Linked DNA regions of Homo sapiens: all the other regions are linked to region 3. The links are contacts of gene promoters, found by promoter capture Hi-C in human tissues and cell types (Jung and others, 2019). All regions are on one chromosome and are shown on one strand. The core of a region is centred on a gene start or on the middle of the fragment in contact, and the rest is flanking DNA. Distances in the headings are between cores, read along the strand shown. Region 1 has its middle 63 kb from the start of TERB2. Region 2 has its middle 85 kb from the start of TRIM69. Region 3 holds the start of SPG11 (SPG11 vesicle trafficking associated, spatacsin).

What was found. Contacts are between HindIII fragments. The study calls those that stand out against the background at their distance.
Region 1: a contact is called between a fragment that was not itself captured here and the fragment with the promoter of SPG11 in region 3, in 1 of the 25 tissues and cell types used here (H1 embryonic stem cells).
Region 2: a fragment that was not itself captured here is called in contact with the fragment with the promoter of SPG11 in region 3 in 1 of the 25 tissues and cell types used here (heart right ventricle).

What each region holds. Positions count from the first base shown.
Region 1 is chr15:44,891,893-44,895,235 of GRCh38, forward strand. No RefSeq gene overlaps it. Among named protein-coding and RNA genes, the nearest start is that of TERB2, 63 kb to the right of the region's middle. The HindIII fragment of the contact is 4,283 bases long and covers 1-3,343 here.
Region 2 is chr15:44,819,507-44,822,806 of GRCh38, forward strand. No RefSeq gene overlaps it. Among named protein-coding and RNA genes, the nearest start is that of TRIM69, 85 kb to the left of the region's middle. RefSeq lists a silencer at 605-899. The HindIII fragment of the contact is 6,198 bases long and covers 1-3,300 here.
Region 3 is chr15:44,662,232-44,665,279 of GRCh38, forward strand. It overlaps SPG11 (SPG11 vesicle trafficking associated, spatacsin), which reads right to left and starts at 1,431. Exons shown (of 40, transcript NM_025137.4): 1 at 1,160-1,431. The coding sequence starts at 1,416. RefSeq lists enhancers at 526-665, 775-1,731, 1,206-1,685, 1,726-1,895. The HindIII fragment of the contact is 12,399 bases long and covers 1-3,048 here.

The DNA.
Region 1 (3,343 bases), core at 59-2,558, 230 kb after region 3:
TATCTATATATCTGTTTTGGTACCAGTACCATGCTGTTTTGGTTACTGTAGCCTTGTAGTATAGTTTGAAGTCAGGTAGTGTGATGCCTCCAGCTTTGTTCTTTTGGCTTAGGATTATCTTGGCTATGCGGGCTCTTTTTAGGTTCCATATGAACTTTAAAGTAGTTTTCTCCAATTCTGTGAAGAAAGTCATTGGTAACTTGATGGGGATGGCATTGAATCTATAAATTACCCTGGGCAGTATGGCCATTTTCACGATGTTGATTCTTCCTATCCATGAGCATGGAATGTTCTTCCATTTGTTTGTGTCCTCTTTTATTTCATTGAGCAGTGGTTTGTAGTTCTCCTTGAAGAGGTCCTTCACATCCCCTGTGAAGTTGGATTCCTAGGTATTTTATTCTCTTTGTGGCAATTGTGAATGGGAGTTCACTCATGATTTGGCTCTCTGTTTGTCTGTTATTGCCGTATAGGAATGCTTGTGATTTTTGCACATTGATTTTGTATCCTGAGACTTTGCTGAAGTTGCTTATCAGCCTAAGGAGATTTTGGGCTGAGATGATGGGATTTTCTAAATACACAATCATGTCATCTGCAAACAGGGACAATTTAACTTCCTCTTTTCCTAATTGAATACCCTTTATTTCTTTCTCTTGCCCGATTGCCCTGGCCCATCTTCCAACACTATGTTGAATAGGAGTGGTGAAAGAGGGCATACTTGTCTTGTGCCGGTTTTCAAAGGGAATGCTTCCAGTGTTTGCCCATTCAGTATGATATTGGCTATGGTTTTGTCATAACTAGTTGTTATTATTTTGAGATACATTCCATCAATACCTAGTTTATTGAGAGTTTTCAGCATGAAGCGCTGTTGAATTTTGTCAAAAGCCTTTTCTGCATCGATTGAGATAATCATGTGGTTTTTGTCATCAGTTCTGTTTATGTGATGGATTATGTTTGTTGATTTGCATATGTTGAACCAGCCTTTCATTGCAGGGATGAAGCCGAGTTGATTGTGGTGTATAAGCTTTTTGAGGTGCTGCTGGATTCGGTTTGACTATACTAATTTTGCATCGATCTTCATCAGGGATATTGGTCTAAATTTCTCTTTTTTTGTTGTGTCTCTGCCAGGCTTTGGTATCAGGATGATGCTGGCCTCATAAAATTAGGGAGGATTCCCTCTTTTTCTATTGTTTGAAATAGTTTCAGAAGGAATGGTACCAGCTCCTTTTTATACCTCTGGTACAATTTGGCTGTGAATTTGTCTGGTCCTGGACTTTTTTTTGGTTGATAGGCTATTAATTATTGCCTCAATTTCAGAACATATTATTGTTCTATTCAGAGATTCATCTTCTTCCTGGTTTAGTCTTGGGAGGGTGTGTGTGTCCAGGGAATTATCCATTTCTTCTAGATTTTCTAGTTTATTTCCATAGAAGTGTTTATAGTATTCTCTGGTGGTAGTTTGTATTTCTGTGGGATCTGTGGTGATATCCCCTTTATCGTTTTTTATTGCATTTATTTGATTCTTCTCTCTTTCTTTTATTAGTCTTGCTAGCAATCTATCAATTTTATTGATCTTTTCAAAAAACCAGCTCCTGGATTCACTGTTTTTTTGAAGGGTTTGTTGTATCTCTATCTCCTTCAGTTCTGCTTTGATCTTAGTTATTTCTTGCCGTATGCTAGCTTTTGAATATGTTTTCTGTTGCTTCTCTAGTTCTTTCAATTGTCATGATAGGGTGTTGATTTTAGATCTTTCCTGCTTTCTCTTGTGGGCATTTAGTGCTATAAATTTCCTTCTACACACTGCTTTAAATGTGTCCCGGAGATTCTGGTACGTTGTGTCTTTGTTCTCATTGGTTTCAAAGAACATCTTTATTTCTGCCTTCATTTCGTTATTTACCCAGTATTCATTCAGGAACAGGTTGTTCAGTTTCCATGTATTTGTGTGGTTTTGAGTGAGTTTCTTAATCCTGATTTCTAGTTTGTTTGCACTGTGGTCTGAGAGACAGTTTGTTGTGATTTCTGTTCTTTTACATTTGCTGAGGAGTGTTTTACTTCCAACTATGTGGTCAATTTTGGAAGAAGTGCGATGTGGTGCTGAGAAGAATGTGTATAATGTTGATTTGGGGTGGAGAGTTCTGTAGATGTCTATTAGGTCCACTAGGTGCAGAGGTGAGTTCAAGTCCTGGATATCCTTGTTAGCCTTCTGTCTCATTGATCTGTCTAATATTGACAGTGGGGTGTTATAATCTCCCATTATTGTGTGAGAGTCTAAGTCTCTTTGTAGGTCTCTAAGGATTTGCTTTATGAATCTGGGTGCCCCTGTATTGGGTGCATATATATTTAGGATAGTTAGCTCTTCTTGTTGAATTGATCCCTTTACCATTATGTAATGGCCTTCTTTGTCTCTTTTGATCTTTGTTGGTTCAAAGTCTGTTTTATCAGAGACTAGGAATACAACCCCTGCTTTTCTTTTTGCTTTCCATTTGCTTGGTAGATCTTCCTCCATCCCTTTATTTTGAGCCAATGTGTGTCTCTGCACGTGAGATGGGTCTCCTGAATACAGTACACTGATGGGTCTTGACTCATTATCCTATTTGTCAGTATCTGTCTTTTAATTGGGGTATTTATCCCATTTACATTTAAGGTTAAATTGTTATGTGTGAATTTGATCCTGTCATTATGATGTTAGCTGGTTATTTTGCCCATTAATTGATGCAGTTTCTTCCTAGCATCAATGGTCTTTAAAATTTGGCATATTTTGCAGTGGCTGGTACTGGTTGTTGCTTTCCATGTTTAGTGTTTCCTTCAGGAGCTCTTGTAAGGCAGGCCTGGGGGTGACAAAAGCATTTGCTTGTCTGTAAAGGATTTTATTTCTCCTTCACTTAGGAAGCTTAGTTTGGCTGGATATGAAATTCTGGGTTGAAAATTCTTTCCTTAAAGAATGTTGAATATTGTCCCCCACTCTCTTCTGGCTTGTAGAGTTTCTGCCAAGAGATCTGCTGTTAGTCTGATGGGCTTCCCTTTGTGGGTTACCCAACCTTTCTCTCTGACTGCCCTTAACATTTTTTCCTTCATTTCAACCTTGGAGCGTCTGACAATTGTGTGTCTTGGGATTGCTCTTCTCAAGGAGTATCTTTGTGGTGTTCTATGTATTTCCTGAATTTGAATGTTGGCCTGCCTTGCTAGGTTGGGGAAGTTCTCCCAGATAATATCCTGAAAAGTGTTCCCTAACTTGGTTCCATTCTCTCTGTCACTTTCAGGTACACCAATCAAATGTAGATTTGGTCTTTTCACATAGTCCCATATTTCTTGGAGGCTTTGTTCATTTCTTTTCACTGTTTTTTCT
Region 2 (3,300 bases), core at 646-3,145, 160 kb after region 3:
CACGATGGAAACAGCTGGGAGCTGGGAGTGAGGTCTGGTTGCTTATGAGGCTACAGACATTTCCAGAGCTCCTTCTACATGCCAGGCACTGTGCCAGCCAGTTAGGGACACCTCCATAATGTAGGTGTGAGACTTGGTCATGGCTTCTGGAGGTCCCCGTCCATGTGAACCAACCGCCCAGAGCTCCTGGATCCAGCGGCTCTTCAGAGGGGCATCAGGGGAGCAGAGCAGAGCAGGCTGGTAAGAGGCAGCTCCTAAGTGCTGACACCTGGTTCCTCTCCTCCTCCCTGCCTGGCCTCTGGGCCTGCTGCCATCTCTCTTTCCCTGGCAGGTTTGTGGAATTGCTGAGAATGCTGGGTCAAGGCCAGGCTGAGGCCTTTTCTGCCACCCTGGGAACTCTTCACGTACCTTCAAGCACCTTTGCAGACTCAGGGCTCAGAGCTGGAAAAGTCTTGAGGGTCATTCATCCTACTCATTTAACAGGTCAAGAGAGAAAATTTGGTGAGACAAGGGCAGGGGCACAAGCACTTAATAAGCATAATCAGAGTGCCATTCACCAGGGGAAGAGCATCAGGCTTCTTTATTCTGTCCCTATGACAAGCCTGAGGCTTGTTTTATTTTTCCCACTTAAAGGATGAGGAACCTGAAGCTTGAAGGAGTCAAGTGAGTTGCTCGAGGTCATCAGGAAGCAGAGTAGCCTAACGTGTACTCACCTCTTCCTTACTATAGGGAGCCCAAGACATCTACACAACCCACTGGTCTCTTCCTTTACAAGTGCCTCTTCCAAATGCAGGAGAGCTGTCCCTCCAGTCAGCCACAGGCCCATGGCCAGACACAGACTGGATGACAGAAACTTTCCCAGCCAACCACCTTGGCAATGTCTGTTTTCCCTTCAGAAGCATCATTCCCTCTGGAACCCCATTCCGGAGGAAGGCAGCATGGCAGGAGCAAGGGCCTTCCTCAGGTCCTAGTTTTGTTGGGTGTTCAGCAAGGTGTGGGGATTTAGTGTGTGGTGCAGGGGAAGGCAAGTTGGGGTTGGCCCAGGAGAGCTCTGGCTAGAGCCTGTCTGTCCCTGTGCTATGCTGAAAGCCCAGCTGCTCCCCAGAACCAGCAGCCCCAGTCCCCAAAGGCCAGAGCTGAGTCACTTTCTTCAGTCTGCCCTGGATGACTAGTTCCTTGCCTCCCAGCTTTTTCCGCATTCACCTTCTCACAGATCATGTGTTGGACTCCTTCTGCTTACTGATAACAGTTTTCCCAGAAGTTCCTGAGAATCGTTAAACCTTAATACTGTCAGCGCTGGCAGCCCTATCCCATCTCACATGATGAGTGGCAAAAGATATGATTCCCTTTGGTATTCCTGAAAGCAGATAGCGCAAATATGCAAGAGCACTCGAAAATCTACACAGTATTGTTAAGCTATATAAGCACAGCGTTACATACACATATGTGCCCACAGAATGAAACAGCAATGTGACAAATGCTTTCGAATCACTCAGAAGGCAAAGTTCCTTAAGGGTTCTACAAATTGCCAAGTTTCTTGGGGTCTGAGCATCTAAGATCTGCATATTAACACCTGCTATGGTTTGAGTTTGACCCCACCAAAACTCATGTTGAAATTTGATCCCCAACGTGGCAGTTTTGGGAGCAGATGGCTAATGGGAGGTGTTTGGGTCATAAGGACAGATTCCTCCCAAATGGCTTGGTGCCATTTTCGCGGTAGTGAGTTCTCACTCTAGCAAGACTGGATTCTCTCAGGAACGGATTAGATCCACAAGAGTGGGTTGTTACAAAGCCAGGATGTCCCTTGAGTTTGGCCTCTTCACATGTGTCTGCTTCCCCTTTGACTTTCTCTGCAATGTTATAGTGTAGCACAAAAGCCCTTACCAGAAGGCAGTGCCATGCCCTTAAACTTCCCGGCCTGCAAAACTGTGAGCTAAATAAACCCCTTTATTTGTAAATCACTCAGTCCCAAGTATTCTGTTATAGCAACACAAAATGGACTAAGCCAGTACCCAGTCCAAGTCATTTTATGCCACATGGATTTGCACCTACTTGGAGAGGTCAGAACCAATAAGGAACATTCTACACACACCACCCTTACTTCTTCCTGGTGATTTGTTAAAGTTTGGTGAATGGGCCGGGTGCGGTGGCTCTTGCCTGTAATTCTAGCACTTTGGGAGGCCGAGGCGAGTAGATTGCCTGAGCTCAAGAGACCAGCCAGGGCAACATAGTGAAACCCAGTATCTACTAAAATACAAAAAAATTAGCCAGGCGTGGTGGTGTGTGCCTGTAATCCTGGCTACTCAGGAGGCTGAGACAGGAGAATCTCTTGGATCTGGGATGTGGAGGTTGCAGTGAGCTGAGATCACGCCACTGCACTCCAGCCTGGGCGACAGAATGAGATCCTGTCTCCAAAAAAAAAAAAAAAAAAGGTTTGGTGAATGGCCTTTCTTTAGAGTTGCAGGGGCTCCTGCCCTAAACTTCTCAGTGAAACAGATCTCAATGGTCTTATGCTCCTCCCTCTCCCCCATTGTTTCTTTTGCTGTTTCATTGCTGACAGTGTTCAACAGCAATATGCCCCATCTTTATATATCGTAAGAAACACTAATTCTAGGTTATTACAAGCAGAAATATTTTTGTCCTGAATAACATTGTTACTGGGCCAAAAGATAGATCAGGAGTCCCAGACTTTAGTTTCCTGAAATTGCCAGGTCAGGCACAAGGGGAAGGGGCTCCTGGATATTGACTAACTTGGGTGGGCCTAGCCAGGAGAAAGATAGCAACATGTGCTCTGTACTTTCTGGGAAGATCCCTGAAGCCATCACGGAGGCTCCCCAACTTCCGAGTCGCCTATCTGTTGCTGTGGCAGTGGGAATGGATTACTTAAGGAGAGGGCACTTTGCTCTCTGTAGGTGGGCAAGTTTCCCGGGCTCTCTGTTTTGCCTCCCTCTGGCTTCTTCCTCCTGGGCCCTCTGCTGTGTGCCACAGGGGATCAGGGATTCTCATCTTCCTGAGGACCAGTGGGGAAGAGTGAACATGGCAGCCTCAAGGTTAGCTGAAGCTGCCATTTGCCCAGCCTCTTCCATCCCAACCATGTCAGTGAGCCCAGGTCTGGTTAACTATTGCAGAATGCCTGTAGTAGGGAACTCTGGAAGTGTATTGGGCTGAGGTGGGATTTTCCCTCCCCACAATGCCCTGAGCAATGGAAGTGGTGAGGGGTGAGCGAGTCAGGCTGCTGAATTCTGTTGGCATTCCCTCCTTGTGTAAAATGGGGTGTTGGGGTGGGGCAGCCTCTGCTTG
Region 3 (3,048 bases), core at 181-2,680:
GAAGAGTTAAGCATTCACTGATGTATCAAATGAATCTCTAAATGTCAGGAGCTGTTAGAGGAGCTGGAGATTCCAAGATTAATAAGACACCTTTTGGCTACTCATCTTAAAGAAAGAGTTGTGAAAATACTTACTATTAATAATTATTAAAAGAACAGGTCAGGCTCAGTGGCTCACACCTGTAATCCCAACACTTTGGCAGGGAGAGGCGGGATCACTTGAGCCCAGGAGCTTGAGACTAGCCTAGGCAACACAGTGAGACCTCATCTCTACAAAAACTAGAAAAATTAGCCAGGCCTGGTGGTGCACGCCTGTAGTCGTAGCTGCTGGGGAGGCTGAGCCCGGGAGGTCAAGGCTGGCTGCCGTGAACCGTGACTGAGCCACTACACTCCAGCCTGGGCGACAGCGACCTTATCTTTAAAAAAAAAAAAAAAAAAAAAAAAGCAGCAGCCCACTCAAAACACTAAGAGGGCGTTCCCAAACTTTATGATGTAAACTCTTAAGTACTGAACCAAGAGTTACGGAAGTACAAAGTAATGCATTATTGTAATCATGTTTGTCTTCCCCAAACATGCGCGCCTCGCAAGAAAGAAGTGTCTTACTCAACTTTTTAGGCACTGCTCCTATGTAACAGCAAGCACACAATATTTGCTGAATAAATGAAGGGACAAACTGGACTCTGTCCTTGAAGAAGAGGACTACATGTGAAAGAAAACGCTATTCACTTCAAGGACATGAAAAAAGTATCAGGATGATTCAAATTAGAGATGATCCTCAGCTGGCATCTTTAACTGAAAGAAATGGGCATGGGACTCGACCCTGTGACAGTTAATCAACCTGTGTTGAATAATGAAAGAATCAGCGCCTCAGCTGAGACCCGTTCCGGGTTCGCCGCAGGTGGCAATGGAGCTGGGTGCCGTCTCCGCCCACCCGGAACAGGAGAGCTGGGCTGCCAGAATGCAACGAGGCGAGCGTTTCAGGTCGGGGGAAAGGTTCTGTGAGGAAACCACGCTCGCCTCTGGGGCGTTTCCTGCAGCTGGCACCCTTCTCCCGCCACCTCTATGGCTGCAGGGAGGCCTCGGCGTGAGCCCTTGGGGCTCAGTCAGCCGAGCCTAGGCTCTGGACTCCCCCAACGGCCCAACTCTCCCTCAGCACTTACTGCCAGAAGGGGCCCTCCAGGCAGCAGCGACCCCCGCCCCGGCTGCCAGGCGTCAAAGAAAGCACTTGGAGGCTGCCCGCAGCCGTCAGGCTCCCCAGAGCCTCCGGCTGTGTGCGCAGCTGCGCCCGGGAGCCGAGCTGCCCCATCGCCTCGGCGGGGACTGGCACCAACAGCATCGGTAGAACCCGCCCCATGGCCGCGGTGCCCCAGCTACCGCCGGCGGAAGCAGCACTCGCGACCCCTTCCTCTGCAGCCATCTTGGCCCGGCGGTTACTTCCGGTCACTTTCGCCGGAACCTGACTGCGTCGTGGGCATGCGCGGTGTACGTAGCGGCTCCCGCTCGGCCTCGTGACTCCCGCGGAGACCTCTCGGCTGTCTCCGGTCGATTCCATTCGTTTCCTGTGGGGGGCAGTACCAGCCTCTCTAGCAAAGCCACATCTGCCCTGACGCCAGTCCCACTCTGCTTAACTGCTCTGGCATGCTTGAAGGCCTAGCTTAGCGTAGCAGGCCGTTGCAGCCGTTCTCGCTCTGTGGCATTGCTCTTTGCCTTCTTGGTCCAGCTGCCTCCAGCTCCCTTGGAACCCAGTTCCTGCCTCTTTTCTTCGCTTTTCTTATTGTGCTGTTCGCTTACAGGCTCTGGGGTGGTGCCATTTCCTTGGTAGCATGGACCGTCTTACAGTGTGGATCCATAGTAAGGGTGTTGACCCGAAATTTGAAGTCAAATAATATCCATTGTAACAGTCAGAGAGACGGGGTAAGTAAGGGGTGGAGATGGTAGAGAGCTCCTGTCTGTTTTCTCAGGGAAGTATGATCCAAGATCAAGAGAAGGAGAGGAGCAAAGAGTTTGAGGTGAGAAGAGGGGTTGAATAGGTATTTTGGTAAAGTCTCCTAAAAGACAACTGTACCTTCTTAACACATCTTCCACATTCAGAACATTTCAGCATAAATGTAACCTCTATTGACAGGCCTCCCCAAGCCATTCAACCTAAGGTCCCTTCTACTGCAGTCTCTCACCTAGTTTTGTTTTTAATCATAGTATTTATCACTACTTGATATTTTCTGCCAGTTCCTGTCCAATAAGAATGTAAACTTCAAAAGAGCAAGGACTTTGTTGCTCACCACTGTCCTGGCTAGTACCTAAAACAGTGCATGTTTCATGAAAGGTACTCCCGCATTTGTTGATCAATGCATGACCTTATTTGTCAAAATAAAAGCAAACTTTTTTTTTCTTTTGAGATGGAGTCTCGCTTTGTCACTCAGGCTGGAGTGCAGTGGCGGGATCTCGGCTCACTGCAACCTCCGCCTCCTGGGCTCAAGCAATTCTGCCTCAGCCTTCCCAGTAGCTGGGATTACAGGCGCACGCCACACCCAGCTAAATTTTTGTATTTTAGTAGAGACGGGGTTTCACCATGTTGGCCAGGCTGGTTTCGAATTCCTGACCTCCGGTGATTTACCTGTCCCAGCCTGGAAGTGCTAAGATTACAGACGTGAGCCACCGTGCCCAGCTGAAACCAAACGTTTTCTATCACAAGGGAGATATATTCAACCTTCTAAGCTTAGCTGGGGCTGTGTTCTTTCTGTAAAAAATGGCAACGTTAAAGCAATTTCTAAGGTTACACTTGTGTTAGCTACAACAAAGCCTTGTCCCTTATAATCAGGACAGTCTTCTCATGCCTGTAAATCCCAGCACTTTGGGAGGCCAAGTTGGGAGGATCACTGGAGCCCACCCTTGCCAACATAGGGAGACCCTTGTCTCTACAAAAAAAATCAAAAAAAATTTTTTTTGAGAGTTTTGCTCTTGTTGTCCAGGCTGGAGTGCAATGGCACAGTCTTGGCTCACTGCAACCTCTAACCTCTGCCTCCTGGGTTCAAGCGATTCCCCTGCCTCA